7 separate regions of the Homo sapiens genome follow, and all the other regions are linked to region 7. The links are contacts of gene promoters, found by promoter capture Hi-C in blood cells and fetal thymus (Javierre and others, 2016). All regions are on one chromosome and are shown on one strand. Each heading gives the region's core, a stretch centred on a gene start or on the middle of the fragment in contact. The rest is flanking DNA. Distances are from core to core; before and after follow the strand shown. Region 1 holds the start of MRPL23 (mitochondrial ribosomal protein L23). Region 2 has its middle 34 kb from the start of MIR483. Region 3 has its middle 27 kb from the start of H19. Region 4 has its middle 7.0 kb from the start of H19. Region 5 has its middle 55 kb from the start of MIR483. Region 6 has its middle 11 kb from the start of MUC5B. Region 7 holds the start of KRTAP5-5 (keratin associated protein 5-5).

Region 1 (3,191 bases), core at 88-2,587, 320 kb before region 7:
ACACAAAAACCTGGCTCACTGCCACCAGCCTGCCTCCCCACGGCCCCACGAGTGACTCACCCAGGATCCCACCCTCTCGGCACCCCCACCCCAGCTGCATCCAGTCCACAGCAAGTCCAGTCAGCGCTCCCTGCAAAGGCTCCCTGGCAACAGGAGTGTGTGCACTGCTGGGCGAGCGGGCCCCGCTGCCTCCAAGGCAACCACACCTGATCCGTTTCCAGGGGCCCACCACCCTTGGCCCTTCAGGAACACCCCACCCGGGTCCTCTGACCCTCACTTCCTCCTCATTCTCCAGGGACAGGCGAAGGGCCAGCGTGGAATTCACGTGAGGCTCAGGGCAGTGTTGGCCTCACTCAGACCTTTTCTTCCTTGGTGCTGGGTGTTCCCCAAGGTCAGGGCCACGCGCAGCACCGGTCCCAGGTGTCTGCTGAAGGAAGCCTCCTCCACTGGGGGTCCCACCTGCCACCCTCCCCTCTCTCCCCAGCTATGTGCAGGGGCCTCCAAAGCCACACCCTGGCCCCTTGACCGTCCCTCTCCAGAAACACTGATTACTGTTCTCCAAAACCCACCCGGGAGCCCACATCTACTGATTACGCCTGAGTCATTCGTTCACCAAGAAATATGCAGGGCTTCCTGCTTCAATTTGGGGAGGGCGAAGTGGTGCAGGACAGCGCCCCGATGGCCCCCTGGGAATCCAGAGAACATGCAGAGTGGGCGTGGGGGGTCTGGGCTGAGCAGAACCGGGCCTCCCGCCCTGCCTGCCCCAAAGCCCTGAGGGCTGCGGTCAGCTGCCCTTTCCCACTCAAACCCAATCTGGATTCCCAGCTCCTCTGCCTCAGGCCGCGCCCGCGCTGCGGTGGGGGCCGCCCGGGCCTCCCCGCCTGGACCCAACAGCCGACGTGGCCCCCGCCCCGTGACGATCAGAAACGTCTCCAAACAGCTCCCTCGGCCCTGGCTGCGGGACCAGCCCCGGGCCTGACCCCGGGCCACCCTCCCACTCCCCACGCGGGGGCACCGTGGCCTCCATGGGTTTGGCTCGGACCCTCTGTCCCCAGCCCGGCCACGCCCGCCCCCTGGGGTTGCCCTAAACCTGGCGGGGGGCTCCTCCGCCACCCGCCTCGCGTGTCTCAAGGCATGACAGGGGGTCCCGGAGAACCCTGCCTCGCCCGGGCCAGGAGGCGGCCCAGGGACGCCCACCCCGCTCCCCGGAGTCCGCGCGCCCTGTGGGGTCCGTCTGCTTGTGACACTAAGGGGCGCCCCGCGACGGGGGGGTGACGACCCCTACTCACACCACATTCCGCGCCATGGCGGCCACGCGCGCTTCCGGGGTCCGCGAGGCGGAAGGAGCAGCGCGCCCGCCCCGCACGGCCGCCGCCTGGCACAGCGCCCCCTCGCTTCCGGAGGCCGCGCCGCCCCCCCCGCACGCGCCAGCGCCCGTGCCGCGCGCCCGTGCCGTCCCCAGCCCTGCGCCCGCCCCGCCCCGCGCCGCCTTCTTCTCCCTCCCTGCCCCCCTCCTGTCCCGCACCCCACGTTCCTCCCCGCCCCGACCCCCACTCCCCGCGCCGCAGACTCCACAGGACGCGGGGCCGCAGCAGTCCCGCCCCGCACTCCCGGCCCCACAGCCTGAAGCCCGGGCCCGCGCCCCTGCTGCTCGCGCCCCGCCCACGCCCGCACCCCTCCCAGCCCCAGAGACCTCCCGCCGCCGTCGCACTCTTTCGGGCCTGTCTGCCCTGCCTCCCGGGACCCCGGCCTGCACGCCCCCCACACCCGTGCCCCTGCCCTTTGGCAGCTCCAGGCCACAGCCTGGCCCCGCACCGCTGCGCTTGCAGCTGCTGGGAGCTGGAAGTGGAGAACCGGGGCTGTAGTGCTGGGGAGGGCGGGTCCCCGGGCCTGGGGTCTGAAGCCCCTCTCTCCATCTGGCTGTTTTTACCCGGGAGCCCGGAACCCCAGGGCCCCTCACCTCGCCCTTCTGGCCAGCCCGGTTGGCAGCCCCCACGCTGGCCACACCAGCCACGCTGTCCATCCTCGGTGCTCCCACCACGCCTCCTCCAAGAGGGCCACTGGCCTCTTCAGGCCTTGCCGTTTGCTCACCCCCTCTCCACCCTTCTGGCCAGCCCCCTCCAGCCTCTGGCAAGGCCCTCTCTACAGGGACCCCCGTCCAAGGCCCAGTCCTCACTCCTTTCCTTGGGTAGTGCTGGCCAGGAGGGCTGCTGGGACCCTTCGGGAGTAGAGGGCAGCAGCCTCCCTCCCCTGTCCCCAGGCCTCTCCCTCCTCCCCTGGTTTCCTCTGCCTGGTGGCTGGATTCAGGCCACTTCTCCATCTATCTCTTTAACTGCCCGTGCCCCCCACCCCCAAGCCTGGCTTGTTCCCGCACCCAACAGCACCCTAAGTGTTCTTCAGAGCAAGAGGCAGGGGTGTCATGCTTCAGAGCAAGAAGCGGGGCCATGGGTCCTGGTTGTTGCTGGGGGCAGGGGGCCCAGGCCTGCAGGTGGGAACAGGGCTGCGGGAGGGCACTGGGGTTGATGGAAATTCAGGAGGAGGAGAGGGCACTGTGCCCCTCCGAGGGCCTGGGCCGGGTAGGGCTGGAGTTCCTCCTGATGGGTGGGTTTGAGTGGAAATGACTCCAGGGGGTCTATCTAGCATGAAGGCATTGAAGCAGGATGGAGTGAGAAGTGGGCCAGAGTGGGCAGGGAAGGTGGTGGCAGCCGTCCCCACTGTTGTCCAGGCCTGCGTGAGGTGGAGAAGCTCCAGGCTGCCAGTGGCAGGGTCCCAGGAGGCTGGTGACCAGACAGGCCTTTGCCCAGCAGCAGGTGCCCTTGGCCAGGCCCAAGGAGCAGACCGCAGGACAGGGATGGAGCTGGAGAAGGGGGGTCCTGGGGCCGGGGGTCCTCAGGCTTCCTTTTATGTTCATGCAATGCTGCCTCTTTCGGCAGCCACATTGTGCAGTGTGCTTAGAGATATGTGGCTGCTGGAAGTTGGGTTCAGAGTTGTGGGTGGCCGATGTGGAGAGGAGGGTGATTGGAGGCCGAGCTGTGGGTCACGGGTGGGTGCTGCTCAGATCACTGGGGCTGCTGGAGGGCGGCGGTTGAGCTAGGAGCTGAGGTCCTTCCTCAGGGCGAGGCAGGGGTGGGGTCACAATGGAGCAGACCCCTCACCACTCCTTCCATCCCTGTTTCTCTGATAGTCTGCTA
Region 2 (3,496 bases), core at 98-2,597, 470 kb before region 7:
ACACACCACCTTCCCATCCACTCATCCACCCATCCATCCCACACATCCTTCCACTCACCTACATATTCACTCATCCATCCATCCATCCATTCCAACCTCCATCCATTCACCCACCTACCCATCCATCGATCATCCATCCATCCATCCATTTATCCATCCATCCATCCATCCATCCATCCGCTCACCCATCCATCCATCAATTCACCCACCCATCTATCCACCCACCTATCTACCACCCTTTCCACCACAATTCTATATCATCCAGGTTTGATAATTGGAAGCCCATTGCTAAGAAAACTTCTTGAACAAGTTCTTTGGCTAAGAAACAAGAGGCTGCCTCAATTTACCCACTGCATCTGTGTCTTATGGATTTGAAGTCATCATAAGTCACATCTAAGACCAGGACCAGGACCTGAGACTGTCCTTTCAGGACCTTTTATTTTCCACAATGACAGTGACAGACACACACAGGGAGCACTAAGGCTGGGGTCCCAGTGGACGTCAGTGTGGGGAAGAGTCTCTCCTGGCTCTGTGTGGCCTTTGAAAGACACCTCATTCCTTTGGTCTAGGCTTCTCTGTAAAATGGGCTGCCAAGATGGTTGTGCGGGTCGATGGAGAGAAGTAATCTGCCTGTCTTTGAATCATTGCCTCCAGGTGAAGGTCTCCCCTCTTTCTAACTCTAATCTAAAAACCCATGAGGTTGAAATCCTCAAGCCCCAAGCGACACCTGTGAAACGGCCCAAGAGAAGCGTGCCATGAGGCAGCAGGAAGGGCATTCCAGGAGGAGGGAACAGAGGTGAGAGAGACGCCCTGACATTTGGGGACCCAGCAGGGAGTTTGGCCTGGCTGTCACTGGAATGGCAGCACAGGTGGCTGGAGAGGAAAGAGGGGCCAGGCTGAAGGATCAGATGCCCCTGGGAACACACAGGAGCTGTGGGGTGGGCCAGGTGGGGTTCCTGAGGGAGGGGCACAGGTGGGCCAGCTGGCCGAGAAGAAGCTTCCTCTGCAGGGTGGCGAGTAGAAAGGGGAGTGAGCCCCACCTGCATGGCTGCCGAGGGGTCCAGTGAGGGAAGGTGGTGAGTCCAGGGACCCAGCTTCAAGTGCCACACGGGTCCCGCTTGGCCATGCTGGATGGGAAGGGTTCTCCTCTGGTACACTGTGTCTGGAGGCCCCGGGTCTTCCTCCCTTGGCCTGGCAGGGTGGTCCCTCCCGCTGCTCGGCTCTGTACTAGGCTTGATCCCCTGTCTTGGGTACAGTCCTGCCCCAACCTCCCCAGGCATCCAGTCCCTCCTGTCCTGCCCCATGGAGTCTGCAAACCCAATGCCCTTGGCTTCTCCCTGCCTCCAGCTTCCGTCCTTCAGCCCGTGCCAGGGGCCTGCCCGGGAGGTCTCTTGTCACCAGTCCCCAGTGCCAGTCTCCCACTCAGCAACTGTGGGGCACCTGGAAGGACCTGTGAAATAAACCCCTGAACCCTGGCCCAAAGCCACTGCCCCCCAAAACCTGGACTCAGGGAGCTCAGCAGAGCATGCAGGACTGCAACCGGCCTGGGCTGTCCACTTGTCCTGCGGGCTTTGGGCTGGGGAAGGGCAGACGGAGGGGCAGGGCCAGGCCAGCCTAGGAGGCCCCGGGGTGCAGAGTGGGGCCTGGTTGCATCAGGGAACCCAGGGGCTCTGGTCCCCTGGGCCCAGCAAGCTTGAGATGGGCCTGGGCACCTCCCTCTCTGCACTGGGCGGGCTTCCTGCCTGGCCCCGGGAAGTGGCCCCCCTGCACCTCCCGCAGACAGGTGACGTCAGCGTCTGAGATAACAAGGCGGCCCTGCCGGCGTCTGCCCCAGCGTATGCCCACTGTAATCTGGGCTGTCTGGGCACAGGGGCCACCTTGGCTCGGTGAAAAGCTACCCTCGCAGTGAGCTCCGGTGGGGCTGAGGAAAACACGTCTGCAGGCCTAGGCGGGGCAGGCCCCAGGGGCGGCTCTGCCTTGCGCCCCCTAAGATCTGTGCCAGAACTGAGCTGTTCTTACTGGGGCACACAGGACCTGAAGCCCAGCAGGGTGTGCAGTCAGTAGGTGCCCAATAAATGTGTGGATGAGCCAAGGAACCCTGCACGAATTAGTGAGGCTGAAAAGCAGATGATTTAGAGGCAAGAGAGGCCGGAGGAGCCTGGGCTTCTCCAAAGAGGAGGACAGGATGCAGGGCCCCTGGCACACACAGCCCAGCCCCCACTCTGCCCCGCCCCCACCCAGGCCAGCCTCAGGCAGCCTGTCCTCCAGGCCCTGCTACCACTGTGGCCTGTCCTGTGGTCTGACTTGGCCTGGCAAGGGCACTCGGGCGCAGGGCCAAGAGTGTGGGGCCTGCCTTCCTTGTAGCCCACTCCAGTCTCCTCCGCTGGCCGGGGAGGGCAGGGGAGCAGCTGCTGGAGCTGCGGCTGAGAGCGGGTGACGGGTACTGTTGTCAGGCAAGGCGGGGGTGCGGCTCCCGCTTGGCATCCTCCACCAGGGCTGCAGTGAGAGGCGTGGCCAGCAGGTGAGCAGGCAGAGGAGTGTGTGGGTGCACCCAGCCCAGCAGCCTGGCCACGAGGGCCCCCTGGCACCCAGGCGCTGCTCTTCATCAGAGTCTGCCCTGTGCCAGCTGGCAGGGCCAGCATAGGGATGTTTCACTTACGTACACTTCACAAGGGAAGCGGCAGGCTGAGGAGCTGTCTGCTGAGGGCCAAGACCTGGGGACACGCCACAAGTGGGGACAGCAGTTCCTGAGGATCCCAATGAGCCCTGGTGGGAGGGGGCCATGGGGAGGGTCCCAGGGAGCAGGTGCTGGGCACTGTAGCGTGTCTGGGCCAGCTTTGACCCTCAGGAGGGTGGGCTGGGGTCAGCCAAGCCGCTTCTTAGAACCTGGGGATATCAAAAAGAGCAGAGCTGGCCTGCTGTGCCCAGCACCAGCCAGGACAGGAGACAGCAGGGGAGGGGCACCGGCATATCACCTACTCAGGGCTGCAGGAGCTGGGTGGGGGCAGGCAGCAGGCACCAGGAAAGAAGGGGGAGTGATAAGGGATGTGGGCTGAGACTGGTGGGAGTTCTGGGTTCAGGATAAGCTTGGCCACAGCCTCGAGGAGAGAGGAGGAAGTCCCCACCCCAGCTGGACCCGCATTTCTGGCCATGTTCAGACGCCCTGCGGTCCGGTCTCCACTCCAGGTGCTCTGTCCGGGCAGGAGGCTGTGACGCACCCTCTTTGTCAAGGGGCATTCAGGGATAAGGCTCCTACCTGCAAGGAGCTCACTCTAGAAGGGGAGCGACTCTGAAGCAGACAGGATGGGGCCAACCGCGTGGGGTGAGGAGGAGGCATCCCAACCGGGAGGATGGGGAGGTCCCTGCAGGGGGTCCGACCCAATGTGAATGCTCGTCTGTCATGATGGCCGTGGAGGGGCAGGATCCAGGAGGGGTGCTGGTGGCGCCAAGGGGCATGAGGACTGGGCAGGACGCTCCTGAGCTTGGTGCTGGACCT
Region 3 (3,124 bases), core at 366-2,865, 390 kb before region 7:
TACACAGTGGGCACTTGGCAGGGACTGTGCCATGAACATGGGCTGCCCCTCACTGCCCACCTGTGCTGAGCAGACATGCACTTGGTCCCTGGCTGTTGGACCCAGTGAGGTGGCAGTGGCAGCAGCAGTGCCCACCATTCACACCTGGCAGGGAGACCTTCCCAAGGCCACCTGCCAGCCGCACTCAGGGCCAGGGCACAGGCTGTGCTGCTGGCCCCTCAGCCCACGCTTCCCAGAATGGCCACCTGGTCAGGAGGGAGAGGTCAGGGGCTCCGTCAGCCAGTGTCCTCCCTTTTAGCATCTACCAGGGGATGGGAAGGTGGTCCTCAAGAAGCCAGGGGTCAGGGCATCGCTGTGGGCGGCGGGCACCCGGGGCTCCTCAGGGTTCTCCTGGCCCTCCACAGCCACTGTGGGGAGGAGGTGCCTGCGGCTGCTCTGGGGCTTCTCCTGGCCCTCCACAGCCGTCATGGGTCATGGGTTGAGGAGGTGCCTGAGGCTCCTCTGAGTTCCCCTGGCCCTCCACGGCCGTCATGGGTTGAGGGGTGCCTGAGGTTCCTCTGGGTTCCCCTGGCCCTCTATGGTCATCGTGGGTGAGGGGGTGCCCGAGGCTCTTCTAGGGGTTCTCCTGGATCTCCACGGCCATCGGGTTTTTTGTGCCCATCCAGGTGGCAAGAGCAAGTGGATGAGACACAGGGAGAGGGGTCAGGGTTGTGCCCACCCTCAGGCCATGGTCCATCCCTGGCTCGGGACCAGACAGGGGTGGAATTTGGGAAGATCAGGAGGCACACAGCACAGAGGGGGTTGGCCAGCATCCACAGCATCGCCTGTACCTGCTCAGGCCTAGACACTCGGCGATGGTCCACACAGAGGCTGGGAGGACTGAGCTCCCTGCGCAAAGGGAGCAGTCAGGGGCCTCCAGCCACCGAGCACACCTGTGCCCCAGGGAGCCCTGCCTGGTGACGGGGCTGGGCGTGGCTGGGATCCTGCACCTGCGCCTCTCAAATGCTCTGCTTCCCCCGGCCTGGATGTCAGCTGGAAAAGGTCTTTTTTCCCCTTTCTTCTGCAGGGGAACATGTGGCCATTACAATTACTGGTGCCATGCAGGACTTCAGCTCCAGGCCTCAGGACCACAGGCAGCTCCTGGAGTTGGACGAGGGTGAGGAGAGAGGGCACAGGAACGGGGGCCGGTGCCTGGGTATAAGAAGACCCTTGTGGGCAGGGAGAGGGAGAGGAGGGGTGAAAGAGGACAGAAGCCCCCGGTCTTGATAGCTGGCCTGCCAGAGTGTGGGCAGGTGGCCTCTCATCTGAGTTGAGCATCTTGGTGAGCCCCAACCCTCCCGCCTGGGGGTCTCTGCCCAACCTGGTCCCTGGCCAGTCAGCCAGCAAGCCCCTCTGCAGCCCTTTCCAGAGGCTGCTGTGAGTCCGTGCCCACCTGCAGTCTCCCGCAGGGCCCTGGGAGGGGAAGGGGGGTGCAGGCGGCCCCAGCACCCAGCCTCACAGACACTGTTCCTCGGGAGCCGTTTCTGGGGTGCAGCTCCGACTCACACCCCAGAGCACCTTGGAGGAAGGAGCAGCAGGCCCCAGGTAGGTGCCGGTGGGGGGGCCCGTCTGCTTTGTCGCATTGGCAACCCAGCCCTGGAGCTGGGGGTCGGGGGGTCGCTGCCTGGAAGGCACATAAAGAAAGATGGAGCCTGGAATTTTTCCCTTTGGAAAAAGAAAACTTGTTCTAAAAGGGGAAAGATTGATGCTCTTGCTTTCCCACACTTGGTTTGAAGCCAACGAGGTGGTTTCAGAAGAAATTTTCCTCTCCTCTATTAAATGTAACCAAACACGATCGACATTTGCAGATCACACGGGGACCTCCAGGCAGCAGAGCTTAGGAACCTTCCTGCCTTCTGCCTGGCCAGGCGAGAACAGACGCACCTCTCACCCCCTGGCCAGACAGCCGGGCAGGGGCTGTGGGCAGGAGGGAGGTGGGGGCTCCTCAGGGCCCCAATGTCAGGAGGTGTCCCAGACAAGAGTGGAGGTGGAGGCCTGCAGCCAGGGGCTGCCCACCATCCAGCTGGCCAGATGAGGCCCCAAAGGAGCCTAGGTGAGGATGGCAATGGCAATGGGGCCACAATGGGACAGGGGCCTTGGCATCCCACACCACACCTGCCTCTCTTGGAGGCCGTCAGGAAAGCTGAGAAGCCAGGGTGGCCAAGTGAGGTGCTGGTGGCCCCTGCAGAGTCCCCCGGCTACATCTCGGCCGTGGCCCTGGCCGGGCTGGCCCCTCCAAAGGTGGACTCTGATCCTACAGGGGCAGTCCAGCCTCCTCCACCACACACACGCACACACCCACAAACACACACACACCACATACAGACACCCGCACACACCAACCCACCTCCCCACACCTGTACACACACCCATCTCCCCAGACACACACATACACACCTCCCCACACCAACACACACACAACCTTCCCACACCTGCACACACACACCCACCTCCCTGCACCCACACACACACACCCATCTCCCCACACCCGCACACACCCATGCACATCACACACAGACACACGCACAATGCCCAAGCACACAGGGCCTCGCTGCCCTTCCAGACACCCAGCCCTTACAAGCCCAGGTTCCCAAGAAACAAAGGTTTAGAGTTTGCTGCTTCCCTGAACCTCCCTCTTCTCGAGCCTCTGAGCACTCCTGAGAGCTCCTCAGACAAACTGGAGGCGAGGGGAGCCCCAGACAGTGCAGGGAGAGCCACTTCACTCCACCCTGGAGGGAGGGGTGGGCAGCAGGGGTGTCCCCTCCCCAGGGCCCACGGAATCTGCAGGGGAGATGGGGGAACACTGGAAATTGTCCCCCATTTAGACACTTGCAGAGCCAATGCCCCAAGGTCCCATCTTCCCGCCAGCACAGCCCAGTAAGGAGCCATGACATTCAGAAGGCCCAGGGCCAGCGCAGCACGATGGGCCTGGACTTCTAGGCAGCTTCCATGCGGCCGGGGTGCCCTCCTGCATCCAGCTGGCTGCCTGGACACAGACCCCCAGGATGCTCCCATCCTCAGTGGTGGCCGGAAGGAAGGCAGCCGGGGTAGACAGGGCCTGCGGGAGGGCAGGACTCGGCAGGCA
Region 4 (3,488 bases), core at 300-2,799, 380 kb before region 7:
TTCATGCCTCCCCCTTGGTTACCCCACGGTCAGGACTCAGCCACCAGCGTGAGCCCACACACCGGCTCTGGAGTGGTGGGCACAGGTGAGAGGGAGGTACAGCTGCCACAGCCAGGAAACCCCAGGACGATCCTGAATGGGCCCAGAGCTGGCTTTTCTCTGTCACGGAGAGAGACATGAGAGGGTCATGAGTGTGAAGATCGCCAGCTCCCAGGGTCAGGGCCCAGCCTCCTTCCATCTCACTGCTCTGGACTCCTCAGTTCCTCATGGAGTCTGTTTAGTGCCTCTCCAGAAAAGACAAGTTGAAGCCCTGACCACCAGCATCTCAGAGCACGAACTCATTTGGAAATAGGGTCATTATAGACGCAATCGATCAGGTCAGACTGCAGTAGGGCAGGCCCTGAATCAAACATCATGGTGTCCTCACAGGTAGAGGAGAGGCACGAGAGAGCAACGCTGCGTGAAGGCGCAGGATGAGAGCATCCTGGAAGATGGGCACGGCTGGGGTGACAGGTCTGGGAGCCTGGGAACACTGGGAAAGTCGGCCAGCACTGGAGCCTCCCTTAGAGCTCGAAGAAGGAGCCAGCCCTGACCACCCCGACTCTGACCTTCTAGCATCGAAACAGGGAGAGACGCATTCCACGTGGTTGTTCCAATCAGCCCAGTTTCTGGGGCTTCCTTATGGCAGCCTCAGGGAACTGGCAAAGCCCAAGTGGGCTATCCCATTACTTATATCTGGGTAGGTCCCAGCCACAGGGGAGAGAGAAGAGAAAGCCCCTCTATCTAATGACACGCTGTACTCATGTCCCACCCGCATGATGTGCCGTACCCGTGTCCCTATCCAGGTGACGTGCCGTACCCGTGTCCCACCCGGGTGACGTGCCGTACCCGTGTCCCACCCGGGTGACGTGCCGTACCCGTGTCCCACCCGGGTGACGTGCCGTACCCGTGTCCCACCCGGGTGACGTGCCGTACCCGTGTCCCACCCGGGTGACGTGCCGTACCCGTGTCCCACCCGGGTGACGTGCCGTACCCGTGTCCCACCCGGGTGACGTGCCGTACCCGTGTCCCTATCCAGGTGACGTGCCGTACCCGTGTCCCACCCAGGTGATGTGCTATGCCCATGTCCCACCCAGGTGACACGCTATACCTGTGTCCCTATCCAGGTGACACGCTGTGCCATGTCCCTATCCGGGTGACACTGTGCCATATCCCTATCCAGGTGACACACAGTGCTCATGTGTCTATCTAGATGACAGCACCGTGCCCACATCTTTATCCCGGTGACAGCACTGTGCCCACGTCCTGTCTTGGTGACATCACTGTGGTTATATACCTGTCCATGTGACATCACTGTGCCCACATCTGCCTCCAGGTGACAGCGCTGTGCCCACATCCCCACCCAAGTGCTCTGGGCACCTTGGCTGGGGCTCTGGCCACTTTCATGTTGGTGCCACCCTGTGTGTGGATCATAGCACCCAGGCACTCACCATTACCGTGGCCAGCACAGACCAGACCCGACCCCAGTAGTCCTCAAAACTAGGTCCCCTGCTGGGTGCGGTGGCTCACGCCTGTAATCCCAGCACTTTGGGAGGCTGAGGCGGGCGGATCACAAGATGAGGAGATCGAGACCAACCTGGCTAACACGGTGAAACCCCATCTCTACTAAAAATACAAAAAATTAGCCGGGTGAGGTGGTGGGCGCCTGTAGTCCCACCTACTTGGGAGGCTGAGGCAGGAGAATGGTGTGAACCCGGGAGGCGGAGCCTGCAGTGAGCCGAGATCATGCCACTGCACTCCAGCCTAGGGGACAGAGCGAGACTCAAAAAACAAAAAAACAAACAAAAAAAAACTAGGTCCCCTGTGCTGTGCTGCTGTACCCCAGCAGTCGCTTCACTGGCAAGACTACTCTTAGCAGGTGCGCCTGGAAGCAGAAACTGGGCAGCTCCCGGTCTGTCCTATACACATGCAAATGCCCCATTAGAAAGCAAATAGCCCGAGGTGTTTGCCTGCTCCCAGGCAAAATCTCCCAAATCTTCCTCCGGGAATCAGTGAACAGAAGAGATGTCCATCACCCCCAGGAGAGTAGTGTCTGAACCCGTCTAACCGCCCAACAGGTTCTCCCTGCCGCCGGTCTGGACAGAGCTGCTTTATCACAACAGGTGACTTGCAATAAAGTTTAATTCACACAGAGTCGGCCGTGCAGGAGACCAGAGTTTTATTATTACTCAAATCAGTCTCCCAGGAAATTTGGGGATCAAAGTTTTTAAGGATCATTTGGTGGGTAGGGGGCGAGTCAATAGGGAGTGCTGATTGGTTGGGTCAGAGATGAAATCATGGAGAGTCAAAGCCATCTTTTTCTGCTGAGTCAGTTCCTGGGTGGGGGCCACAAGACTAGATGAGCCAGTTTATCAATCTGGGGGGTGCCAGCTGATCCACCCAGTACAGGGTCTGCGAAATATCTCAACCACTGATCTTAGGTTCTGCAACAGTGATGTAATCCTAGGAGCAATTTGAGGAGGTTAAAAATCTTTCAGCCTCCAGATGTGTGACTCCATGACTCCTAAACCATAATTTCTAATCTGTGGCTAATTTGTTAGTCCTGAAAGTCTAGTCCCCAGGCAGGAAGAGGGTCTGTCCTGGGAAAGGGCTGTTATTGTCTTTGTTTCAAAGATAAACTATAAACTAAGTTCTTCCCAAAGTTAGTCCAGCCTGCACCCAGAAATGAATAAGAAGGCAAGACAGAGTTGGTTACGTCAGATCTCTTTCATTGTCATAATTTTCTGTTATATATTTTTTTTTTTTTGAGACAGAGTTTCGCTCTTATCATCCAGGCTGGAGTCCAATGGCTCGATCTTGGCTCACTGCAACCTCCACCTCCGGAGTTCCAGTGATTCTCCTGCCTCAGCCTCCCAAGTAGCTGGGATTACAGGCGCCCACCACCATGCCCAGCTAATTTTTGTATTTTTAGTAGAGATGGGATTTCGTCAGGTTGGCCAGGTTGGTCTTGAACTCCTGACCTCAGGTGATCCACCCACCTCGGCCTCCCAAACTGCTGGGATTACAGGCATGAGCCACCACCGCCGGCCGATTTTCTGTAATAATTTTTGCAGAGGCGGTTTCACCAGGAGAACCAAGCATTAATGCGCTGTGGCTGATGTGTAGTAGAGCGGCATTTCCCAATGGGAGAACCCTGGGGCTGTCTAGGAGCCCATGCATGGCTGGGAGCCTAATCCCAGGGACACCACCGATGACAGCTCCCATAGCACGTAGGACAGTGGATACTTGGAGGCAAAGAGAAATCTCTGTTCTGCAGTGGTCATGACTTGGACCCCAAAGAACTTGAGCCCAAGGTCCAGAGGGAGACCCTCCCAACAGGGCCTCCAGCAGGAACAGGGATCGTGGGAGCCTGCCAAGCACAGCGCACAGGTATTTCTGGAGGCTTCCCATTCAGTCTTGGATGCCAGCCTCACCGAGGGCGGCCCATC
Region 5 (3,621 bases), core at 658-3,157, 450 kb before region 7:
ATCGCACTGCTGCGCTCCAGCCTGGGTGACAGAGTGAGACTCTGTCTCAAAAGAGAAAAAAAATCAATCAATTCAGAAGAAGACAGAGAAGAAAAATAATAAAGAATAAGTGTGGCAAATAGAAAACAAATAGGAAGATGATAGAAGATTCAAGCCTAATGACATCAATAATCACATGAAATACAAATGGTCTAAACCTCATTACAAGTAGAAAATGTCAAATTGGGTTTAAAAAGCAAGGCCTGACTGTGTGCTGCCTACATTAAATATACAGACACAAATAGGCCAAAAGAAAAAGAATGAAAAAAGTTACAACATGCTAATGCTTGTCTAAAGAAAGCTGGAGTGACTATCCTGATTTCAGATAAAGGAGGTTTTGGAGGAAAGAATATTATAAGGATAATGAAGGCTATTTTATAATGATAAAGAGGTCAATTCTTCAAGAGGAAATAAGCATCCTAAACATTTAGGCACCTAATCATATAGCTTCCAAATGCATGATGAGATTGCAAGAAGTAAGCAAAACCATAATTACAGTCAGAGATTTCAATACCCCCTCTCCATAACTATGAGAACGAGCAGGCAGAAAAACTCAGTAAGGATTGAGTAGACGTAGACAGCGCTGTGAAGAAATTTGATCCAATTGACATTTATAGGCCATTCCACCCAACGACGGCAGACTACACTCTCCTCTCAAGTGCAGGTGGGGCATTTATAAAGATAGATCATATTCTGGGCCATAAAATAAGTCTTACTAAATTCAGCAGAATTCAAGTGATGCCAAATGTATTACCTGGCCATAACAGAATAGAATTAGGAATCAATAACAAAAATATCTCTGGAAAATTCCCAAATATTAAGAACTAAATAATAGGCCAAATAACAGACTTCTAAATAACTCATGGATCAAAGACAAAATCAAAAGGCAAATTAGAAAATTTGTTGAACTGAATAAAAGTAACAACACAGCACATGCAAATTTGTGGGATGCTGATAAACTGGTCATTAAAGAAAAAAGTATAGCACTAGCTGCTATATTGTAAAAGAAGAAGTGTCTCAAAGCAACGGCTTCAAGTTTTACCTTAAGAAACTGAGGAAAGAAGAGCAAATTAAACCCAAGTAAAAGAGAAAGAATGAAGATCAAAACAGAAATCAATGAAATAGGAAACAGAAAAAAAGAGAAAACCAATGAAAGTAAAAATTAGTTTTTTGGGAGGCTCAGTCAAATTGATAAGCTTCTAGCCAGAGTGATCGGGCAGGAGGGAGGGAGGAAGAGAAGGAGAGAGGGAAAAAAGAGACCTAAGTTCCAAATATCAGAAGCAAGTGACCCAACCACACATTCCACAGATATTAAAGGGATAATAGGGGAATATTATAAATGACTTTATGCCAATGGGTTCAACAACTTAGATGAAATGGAAAAATATTAGCAATCAACGCTCAGAAATTGAAATAACAACATTTACAATGGCATACAAAATATGAAGAACTTAGGAATAAATTTGACAGAAATGCAAAAGGTATATTCACTGAAAACTGCAAAATATTACCTAGAGGAGTTAAAAAAATTTAAATAAATGAAAGATATACCTTTCTCATAGACCAGGAGATTCATTAATGTTAAGACGTCAATTCTCCTTAAACTGATCTACAGATGAAATGCAATCTCAATCCAAATTACAAAAGTCTTCACTGTGGAAACTGACAAGCTCTAAGATTCATATGAAAATGCAAAGGCCAAGCAACTCCGAAAAAGAAGAAAAAGGTTGGAGGGGTCTCACAATCTGGTATCAACAGCTGTTATAGTGCGGCATCAGCATAAAGACAGATCAATAGTGCCACAATAAACATACGTGTGCATGTGTCTTTATAGCAGCATGATTTATATTCCTTTGGGTATATACCCAGTAATGGGATAGCTGGGTCAAATGGTATTTCTAGTTCTAGATCCCTGAGGAATCACCACACTGTCTTCCACAATGGTTGAACTAGTTTACTTTGAACAATGAGAACACCTGGACACAGGAAGGGGAACATCACACACCCGGGCCTGTTGTGGGGTGGGGGGGAGGGGGAAGGGAGAGCATTAGGAGATATACCTAATGTAAATGACGAGTTAATGGGTGCAGCATACCAACATGGCACATGTATACATATGTAACAAGCCTACACATTGTGAACATGTACCCTAGAACTTAAAGTATAATAAAAATATATATATATGTAAAAAATAAAAAAAAAGTGAAAAAAAAAGACAGACTAATAGAACAATGGAACTGAGCAGTGGGTCCAGAAATGAGTCCACACATATGTGTCCACACAAATGAGTCCACACATATGTGTCCACACAAATGAGTCCACACATATGTGTCCACACAAATGAGTCCACACATATGTGTCCACACAAATGAGTCCACACATATGTGTCCACACAAATGAGTCCACACATATGTGTCCACACAAATGAGTCCACACATATGTGTCCACACAAATGAGTCCACACATATGTGTACAACTATTTTGACAAAGATACAAAGTCAATGCTGTTAAAAAAAAAAAAGAGAGAGAGACAAGCTTTTCAACCAGTGGTGCTGGAACAATGACCATACACAAGCCCCCACCCACACACCCTCAAGCCATGTCTCACATATATAAAAATTCACCCAAAATGGATGATAGACCTAAATGTAAAACCTAAAAACACCAAATTTCTAGGAGAAAACATCAAAGAACATTTTTGTGACCTTGGGTTAGGCAAAGATTTCTTAGTTATACCAAAACTATAATTCATAAAAGAACTAATGGATAACATGGCCTTCAGCCAAATTAAAAACTGCTTCACAAAAGAGGCTGTTAAGAGAATGAAAAAACAAGCCACAGACAGGGAGAAAATCTTTGCAAATCATTAATCTGATGAAGGATATAGAGTTAACAAAACTCAACAATAAGAAAACAAACAATTCAATTAAACATGGTAAAAGATTTGAACAGACACTCCATCAAATAAGATAAACAGCTAGCAAATGAGTACATGGAAAGATTCTCAGCCTGATTTGTCATCGGGTAAACAGAACGGCTAAACTTGAAATGACTGATTATAACCAGCGTTGCTGAGGATGTGGTGGAACTGGAATTCTCACTGTGGGTACAGGGTATGGTACAACCATTTGGAAACCAATCTGGCAGTTTCTTAGAAAGTTGAATATTCACCCAGCACAGGGCCCAGCCATTCCACTCCTACATATTTACTCAAGAGGAAAAAAAATATGTTGATGCAAAGACTTGTGCATGAATATTCACAGAATCTTTTTTTTTTTTTTTGTAATAGCCAAAACCTGGATATGACTCAGGTGTTCATCAACAGATGAACAGATAAAAACAAGCTCTGGTCTAGCCAGGCAGGAGGGTATAGTTAGCAACAGGAAGGGGTGAGTTACTCATACAGAACAACAAACAAGGGTGAAGCTCAAGAGAATTTTCTGAATGAAGGAAGCCAGAGGAAAAAGAAGACTCACTGTATATTTCCATATATACAGTGAAACTCAGAAATGCGGTAGAAAGCAGGTCAGCAGTGGCTCATGGGGGCTGGGGAAAGGGAAGAGTGACAGGAAGGGTTACAAA
Region 6 (3,267 bases), core at 1-2,500, 420 kb after region 7:
TTTTTTCTTAGCCAATCTAGCTAAAAGTTTGTCAATTTGGTTGATCTTTTTAAAGAACCAACTTTTGGTTTCATTGAAGGCTTTTTTTCCTATGATTTTTTAAAATTCCTTGTTTTATTTATTTCTATTGTAACCTTTATTATGTCCTCCCTTTTGGTAGCTTTGGGTTTAGTTTTCTCTTCTTTTTCTAGTTCCTTAAGGTATACAATTAGGTTATTGATTTAAGATATTTCTTCTTTTTTGATTTAGTTGTTTCTAGCTATACATTTCCCTCTCATTACTACCTTTGTGTGTCTTATAAGTTTGGATACATTGTGGTTTTGTTTTCATTCAAGCTTTAAGAATGCCTAATATCTTTGGTGATTTCTTCTTTGACCTGTTTGTTATTTAAAGGTGTGATATTCAATTTCCTCATATTTGTACATTTTAGTTTTTCTTTTATTATTGATTTTTAGCTTCATTCCTTTGTAGAATACTTTGTGTGATTTCAATCTTTGAAAGTTTATTAAGACTTGTTTTGGATCCTATCATATAGTTTCTCCTGGAGAATATTTCATGTGCACTTGGAAAAAAATGTGTCTTCTGCTGTTGGTAGGTGAAGTGTTCTGTGCATGTACATTATGTCTAATTGGTCTATAGTGTTGTTCAAGTCCTCTGTTTCCTTATTGATCTGTCTGGTTGTTGTATTGATTATTGAAAGTGTGGTACTGAAGTCTTCAGCTATTGTTATAGAACTATTTATTTCTCCCTTCATTCTGACAATGTTTGCTTCATATACCTGGAGGCTCTGTTGTTTGGTTCATATATATTTATAGTTGTTATATCTTCTTGTTGAATTGACTTTTTTTTTTTTTTGAGACAGAGTCTCACTCTGTTGCCCAGGCTGGAGTGCAGTGGCATAATCTTGGTTCACTACAATCTCTGCCTCCCACGTTTACGCCATTCTCCTGCCTCAGCCTCCCAAGTAGCTGGGACTACAGGCACCCACCACCATGCCCGGCTAATTTTTTGTATTTTTAGTAGAGATGGGGTTTCACCATGTTAGCCAGGATGGTCTCAATCTCCTGACCTCATGATCCGCCTGCCTTGGCCTCCCAAAGTGCTGGAATTACAGGCGTGAGCCACCATGCCCAGCCAATCATGGTTTTTTAAAAATTGATTTTAACCAGTCTCTGCATTTTAAATGGAGAGTCTAAGTCTATTTGCATTTAAAGTAATTACTAATAAGGATGTACTTACCACTGCCATTTTACTATTTTTTTGTATGTCTTCTAATTTTTTGTTCCTCATTGTCTCCATCACTGCCTTCTTTTGTCTTCAGTTGATTTTTTGAAGTGACAAATTTTTATTCCCTTCTCATTTCTTTTTGTGTATATTCTATAGCATTTTCTTTGTGGTTACCCTCGGGATGACATATAACATCCTAAAGTTATAACAGTCTAGTTTGAATTGATACCAACATAACTTTAATTGCACACAAAACCCTCCTTCTACACAGCTCCACCCCCTCCCTTTATTTCATTGATGTCACAAATTACATCTTTATACCTTGTGTATTCAATAACATAGATTTATAGTTATTTTTATGCATTTGCCTTTTATATCCTGTAGAAAAGAAGAAGTGGATTAAAATCAAATTTACAGTAATACTGGATTTTTATATTTGGCCATGTATGTAGTTTCAGTGAAGATCTATTTCTTTTTACAGCTTTGAGTTACTGTCTAGTGTCCTTTTATTTCAGCCTGAAGGACTTTGTGTAGCATTTCTTGCAGGGCTTGGCTAGTGGCAACAAATCCCTTACCTTTTGTTTATCTGGTAATGTCCTAATTTCACCCTAAGTTTTGAAGGACAGTTTTGCCAGATATAGAATTCTTGGTTGACAGTGTTGTTGTTTTTTAATTTCAGCACTTTAAATGTTATCATCCACTACCTTGCTGGCCTTTAAGGTTTCTGATGGTAAATATGCTGCCAATCTTACTGAAGATCCCTTAAATACGACAAGTCACGTCTCTTCTTGCTTTTGAGATTCTTTCTTTGCTTTTATCCTTCAACTGTTTGATTATAATGTGTCTCAGTGTGGATCTCTTTGAGTTTATCCTACTTGGAGTTTCTTGAACTCCCTGGATTTGTAGATTCATGTTTTTCATCAATTTTAGAAAGCTTTTGGCCATTTTTGTTCCTTTGAATTTTTTTGAGTTTCTTTGAATAATTTCTCCCTTTCTCTCCTCCTGTAAGACCCACTTGGTGGTCAACAAGCACCTCAGATTCTATTCACTTTTCTTCAATCTTTTTTTCTTTCTGCTCCTCAGACTTGATCATTTCAATTGCCTTGTCTTCAAGTTTGGCTGAGCCTTTCTTATAACTGCTCAAATATGCTGTTGAACCCCTCTAGTGATTTTTTTTCATTTCAGTTATTATAATTTCCAAGTACAGAATATCTGTTTGGTTCTTTTTAAAAAGATTTCTGTCTCTTTGTGGGTATTCTCATTTTGTACGTGCATTGTCTTACTGACCTCCTTTGGTTCTTTGTCCGTCTTTTGCTTTAGTTCTTTGAGCAACTTAAGACAGTTGCTTTAAAATCACTGGCTAGTAAGACTGATGTCTGAATTTACTCAGGGATAACTTCTCCCAGTTTATTTTGTTCCTCTGGATGGGCTATATTGTTTCTTTGTAAGTCTTGTGATTTTTTTGTTGAAAATTGGGGATTTAACTATTATAATGTGGTAACTCTGGAAATCAGATTTCCCCCTTTTTCTAGTGTTGGCTGGGTTTTTCTCTTCTTTTTTATTATTGAAGGCTACAGTGATCCATTCGAGATGTTTTTAAGTGAACTTTGCAAAGGCTGTTTCTTGGTGTGTTTTTTTTTTCTTGACAGAGTCTTGTTCTGTTGCCCAGGCTGGAGTGCAATGGCACGCTCACTGCAACCTCTGCCTCCTGGGTTCAAGCAATTCTCCTGCCTCAGCCTTCCAAGTATCTGGGATTACAGGCACCCACCACTACACCTGACTAATTTTTTGTATTTTTAGTAGAGACTGGTTTTGCTATATTGGTCAGGCTGGTCTTGAGCTCCTGACCTCAGGTGATCTGCCCTCCTCGGCATCCCACAGTGCTGGGACTACAGGCGTGAGCCACCACACCTGGCTGCCAAAGACTATTTCTTGTCATGTGTGATCATGAAGTCTGTGTTCCTTTAGCTCATGTTCAACTGATGTTTTGACAGAGATTTCCTTGAATGCCGGGAGCTCTCCCAGTTTTTAGAGAGAAAG
Region 7 (3,461 bases), core at 861-3,360:
GGGACATGAATGGAGCTGGAGGTCAATATCCTTCACAAACTAATGCAGGAACAGAAAACCAAATATCGCGTGTTCCCACTTATGAGTCAGACCTGAGCACTGAGTACATAGGAACACAAGGGAACAACAGCACTGTGGTGCATTTGGCGGGGGTGGCGGGGGCAGGAGGAGGGTGAGGATCAAAAAGTCACCTATTGGGTACTATGCTCATTACCTGGTTGATGAAATAATCTATACACCAAACCCCCATGACATGCAATTCATCTATATGGCAAGCCTGCACATGCAGCCCTGAACCCAAAATAAAAGCTGAAAGAAAGCTTGTCTCCAGGCTAGGTTGCCTTAGAAGGCACTGGGCATTTGGGCTCCCCCAGCTCTGGAATTTTTTTTTGGAGGTGGGGATCTATTCAACTCCCGGCTGCCTTCGAGCTTGTGTCCCGCAGCTGGCGTTGTGTGCAGTCCTGCCTTCTCCTGTCTGGTTTTTCAAGGCCCTGTGAGATTGCAGATAAGCCCAAGCTCCTCCGCATCTCCACGTCTGGCTCCTGCATGCACTAGGGGCTTCTTAGGGCCTGATGTACCGCACAGCTCAGCATACAGACCCTTCCTCATCCTTCCGCTGAAGTGGCCTGGCCCTGAGCTTCCCTCCCTCCCACGGGACGGCAGTGCCTCCACGGCTGACACCACCGCCCTCACCACCTTTCCCTCTCCCCACCTCTCCCCACATACCAGACTGTGAGCTTGGATTTACTCTGCTCTGTCATCTCTGGAGCCCAACACAACAAGGGGCCCAGAGCAGAAAGCTATAGACGTTAGTTCTGTGCATGAAGACATGGACCATGACATGAAAGATGCTGAGGGGAGAGAAATGGGAACAGGCCCAGGGGTGGAGGCAAGAAGATGGTGCTTCTGGGAATGAGAGAGAGGTGGGAAGGAGAGAACCACAAGACAGTGAGCTTTGTGCTTAGAGACTTTGTTTATTTAGAGGGTCAGGATTCAGTCTTGATATACAGACAGCCAGAGAGATTGAGGGTCGATCACACTCCTGAAAGAAGGAGCAGCTGTCAGGGTCTAAGGGGTCTGATCTGCCTCTGGGGCCTCAGTGGGCCGCTTTGGATCTTAAATGAGTGAGGAGCAGGGAGAGGAAGTTCAGGAGAAGTAGTAGGCAATGAGCCAGAAGGGGTCCTCAGTCAGTTTCGGGAGCACTGGTGTGGAGTGGATGAAGCCAGTGAGGACACAGTGGAGACAGTGGAGCACCAGAGAACCCAGGGCAAGGAAGCTGGGCAGCCGGGCCCTTCACCAGTCAGGCCACCTGCAGTCTGCAGTCAGAGCCTCAGATCTTACACTGGCAGCACACGGGGACACAGCAGCTGGACTGGCAGCAGCAGGGCTTGTAGCAGCTGGATTGGCAGCAGGATGATCCACAGCCTGAGAAGCAGCTACAGGGCTTACAGCAGCTGGACTGGCAGCAGTAGGGCTTACAGCAGCTGGACTGGCAGCAGTAAGGCTTACAGCAGCTGGACTGGCAGCAGGATGACCCACAGCCTGAGGAGCAGCAGCAGGGCTTGCAGCAGCTGGACTGGGAGCAGCCATAAGAACCACAGCCCCCCTTGGACCCCCCACAGGAGCCACAGCCCCCCTTGGACCCCCCACAGGAGCCACAGCCCCCCTTGGACCCCCCACAGGAGCCACAGCCCCCCTTGGACCCCCCACAGGAGCCACAGGCCCCCTTGGACACCCCACAGGAGACACAGCCTCTCTTGGAGCCCCCGCAAGAGCCACAGCCCCCTTTGCCACAGCTGGAGCAGGAACAAGCTGGCACACAGCAGCACATGGGCTTGCAGCAGCAGACAGGCACACAGCAGCCGGAGCCACATCCCCCACAGCCCGCACAGCCGGAGCCACAGCCCCCACAGCCTCCACAGCCGGAGCCACAGCCCCCACAGCCAGAGCCACAGCCTCCACAGCCGGAGCCACAGCCCCCACAGCCGGAGCCACGGCCTCCACAGCCGGAGCCACAGCCTCCGGAGCAGCCACAGCAGCCCATGGTTCTGGTGGATTGAGGGTGGAGCAGGTAGAGGAGCAGGTGAGAGGGAGGTGCAGGTGTGGAGCCCCCTGAGCCCGGGCTCTTTATATCCCTGTCCAGGGTCAGGTGAGAGGCTGGGCACACTGTCACTTCCTGGTTCCTGCTTGTGCCACTGGTCCCAGTATTCTCTTCTGCTTTACATTTTTATAAATAACTCCTGTTTTCCTCGCACTTTTCTCGAATGTGCTGTCAGGTCTGTGATGGAAGCGGCCCCTCAGTAAACACTGGCCCCGCGGTGAGTTTCCCTTTCCATGTGACAAGAAGGAAGCGATGGGCAGGCAGTGGCTCGCTCAGAGGCCTTGGTCTTGCCGAGGGTGATTTTGAGCCCAGGACTCCTGGCTTGCTCCCGGGAAGATTCCTCTGCGGGAGCATCGTGTCTTGCTTGGGACGTGCCTAGGCCCTACACCTTCACGGTCCACAGCAGCTCCTGGCCCGCGGGCTGTTTCCAAGGGTCCCAGGACCTGGGGCTTCAGCCCTCAGCTCAGCAGGGTCGTTTTCGGTGTAAGACTTTGTTGGAAGGTTTGCAGTGTTGACTGAGACGGGGATTTTAAGCGCTTATTCTGGAGCTTGCTGCGTGCTCCCCATGGAAAGTGTTCTCCTGTGATAACCGCGGTCTCTTCCAGGGCTTTCAGACCACTCGGGTGGCAGGGCTGACAGATACAGTACAGGATGCCTGCTGGAACTTGAATTTCAGATCATCGAAGGCTGCCTTTTGAGGAAGGAAATCCAAGCATTGCAAGGGGCAGACACTGCCTCTGCGCTGGGTCAGGACCCAGATCGCATTGTCTCCTGCAGCGGTTCCTCCTGCCGCCGCACGGTGTCGCTGTGAAGCGGGTTCCCCCACTGCGTGGCCGGCCCAGGGGCTCCCGGACAGCGGCACAGGCTGATGGCAGAGGCCCTTTCAGGGCCAGTGAGCGGAAGAGGATGCCCTGTCTGGGTGCCCGCCTGCTCCGGGTCCCGGGCTCAGCCTGGGAAGCAGCAACTACATTCGGGTGCAGGCCCACTGGATGCTAAAGAAAGCCGGTGGAGAGCAGGGAACCGGATGGCCATTTGCCCCCGTGACCACAATACCTGTGAGTGCCCCGAGCCCAGTCAACAGGCCTCAGGCCACGGTGTAAACACCAGCTGGCACTCGGTGACTCTTGCCGTGTATGCTGGAGCCCCACTCTGTTCTGGGGCAGGGGACTGTATCTCAGGGAGGAACAGAAAACCCATTAGGAGAGAGCCGCCTTGTGTTGGCTGTCCCCACCAGAGGCGGCATCCTCCAGCTCTGGAACAGAGGCAACAGATACATTTGCTTCCTGATACATTCGCATCCAGCGCCTGATACATTCGCATCCAGCGCCTGATACGTTCGCATCCAGCGCCTGATACATTC

The links. The method cuts DNA at HindIII sites, captures the fragments that hold promoters and counts their contacts. A CHiCAGO score of 5 or more calls a contact.
Region 1: the fragment with the promoter of MRPL23 here is called in contact with the fragment with the promoter of KRTAP5-5 in region 7 in 2 of 17 cell types (erythroblasts and M1 macrophages); the score reaches 6.4 in erythroblasts.
Region 2: a fragment that was not itself captured here is called in contact with the fragment with the promoter of KRTAP5-5 in region 7 in 1 of 17 cell types (M1 macrophages); the score reaches 5.0 in M1 macrophages.
Region 3: a fragment that was not itself captured here is called in contact with the fragment with the promoter of KRTAP5-5 in region 7 in 2 of 17 cell types (M0 macrophages and M1 macrophages); the score reaches 6.9 in M0 macrophages.
Region 4: a fragment that was not itself captured here is called in contact with the fragment with the promoter of KRTAP5-5 in region 7 in 4 of 17 cell types (M0 macrophages, M2 macrophages, M1 macrophages and 1 more); the score reaches 7.5 in M0 macrophages.
Region 5: a contact is called between a fragment that was not itself captured here and the fragment with the promoter of KRTAP5-5 in region 7, in 2 of 17 cell types (M0 macrophages and M1 macrophages). The highest score is 5.3, in M0 macrophages.
Region 6: a contact is called between a fragment that was not itself captured here and the fragment with the promoter of KRTAP5-5 in region 7, in 1 of 17 cell types (M2 macrophages). The highest score is 5.0, in M2 macrophages.

What each region holds. Positions count from the first base shown.
Region 1 is chr11:1,945,478-1,948,668 of GRCh38, reverse strand. MRPL23 (mitochondrial ribosomal protein L23) reads right to left here and starts at 1,337. Exons shown (of 5, transcript NM_021134.4): 1 at 1,290-1,337. The coding sequence starts at 1,306. The HindIII fragment of the contact is 42,193 bases long and covers 1-3,191 here.
Region 2 is chr11:2,098,863-2,102,358 of GRCh38, reverse strand. No RefSeq gene overlaps it. Among named protein-coding and RNA genes, the nearest start is that of MIR483, 34 kb to the left of the region's middle. RefSeq lists enhancers at 1,244-1,885, 1,886-2,528. The HindIII fragment of the contact is 695 bases long and covers 1,000-1,694 here.
Region 3 is chr11:2,023,128-2,026,251 of GRCh38, reverse strand. No RefSeq gene overlaps it. Among named protein-coding and RNA genes, the nearest start is that of H19, 27 kb to the right of the region's middle. The HindIII fragment of the contact is 4,354 bases long and covers 1-3,124 here.
Region 4 is chr11:2,003,111-2,006,598 of GRCh38, reverse strand. It overlaps a transcript of MRPL23 not described here. Among named protein-coding and RNA genes, the nearest start is that of H19, 7.0 kb to the right of the region's middle. The HindIII fragment of the contact is 6,201 bases long and covers 1-3,488 here.
Region 5 is chr11:2,077,116-2,080,736 of GRCh38, reverse strand. No RefSeq gene overlaps it. Among named protein-coding and RNA genes, the nearest start is that of MIR483, 55 kb to the left of the region's middle. The HindIII fragment of the contact is 1,339 bases long and covers 1,238-2,576 here.
Region 6 is chr11:1,210,665-1,213,931 of GRCh38, reverse strand. No RefSeq gene overlaps it. Among named protein-coding and RNA genes, the nearest start is that of MUC5B, 11 kb to the left of the region's middle. The HindIII fragment of the contact is 1,826 bases long and covers 338-2,163 here.
Region 7 is chr11:1,628,424-1,631,884 of GRCh38, reverse strand. It overlaps KRTAP5-5 (keratin associated protein 5-5), which reads right to left and starts at 2,110. Exons shown (of 1, transcript NM_001001480.3): 1 at 955-2,110. The coding sequence starts at 2,044. The coding sequence ends at 1,331. The HindIII fragment of the contact is 5,409 bases long and covers 323-3,461 here.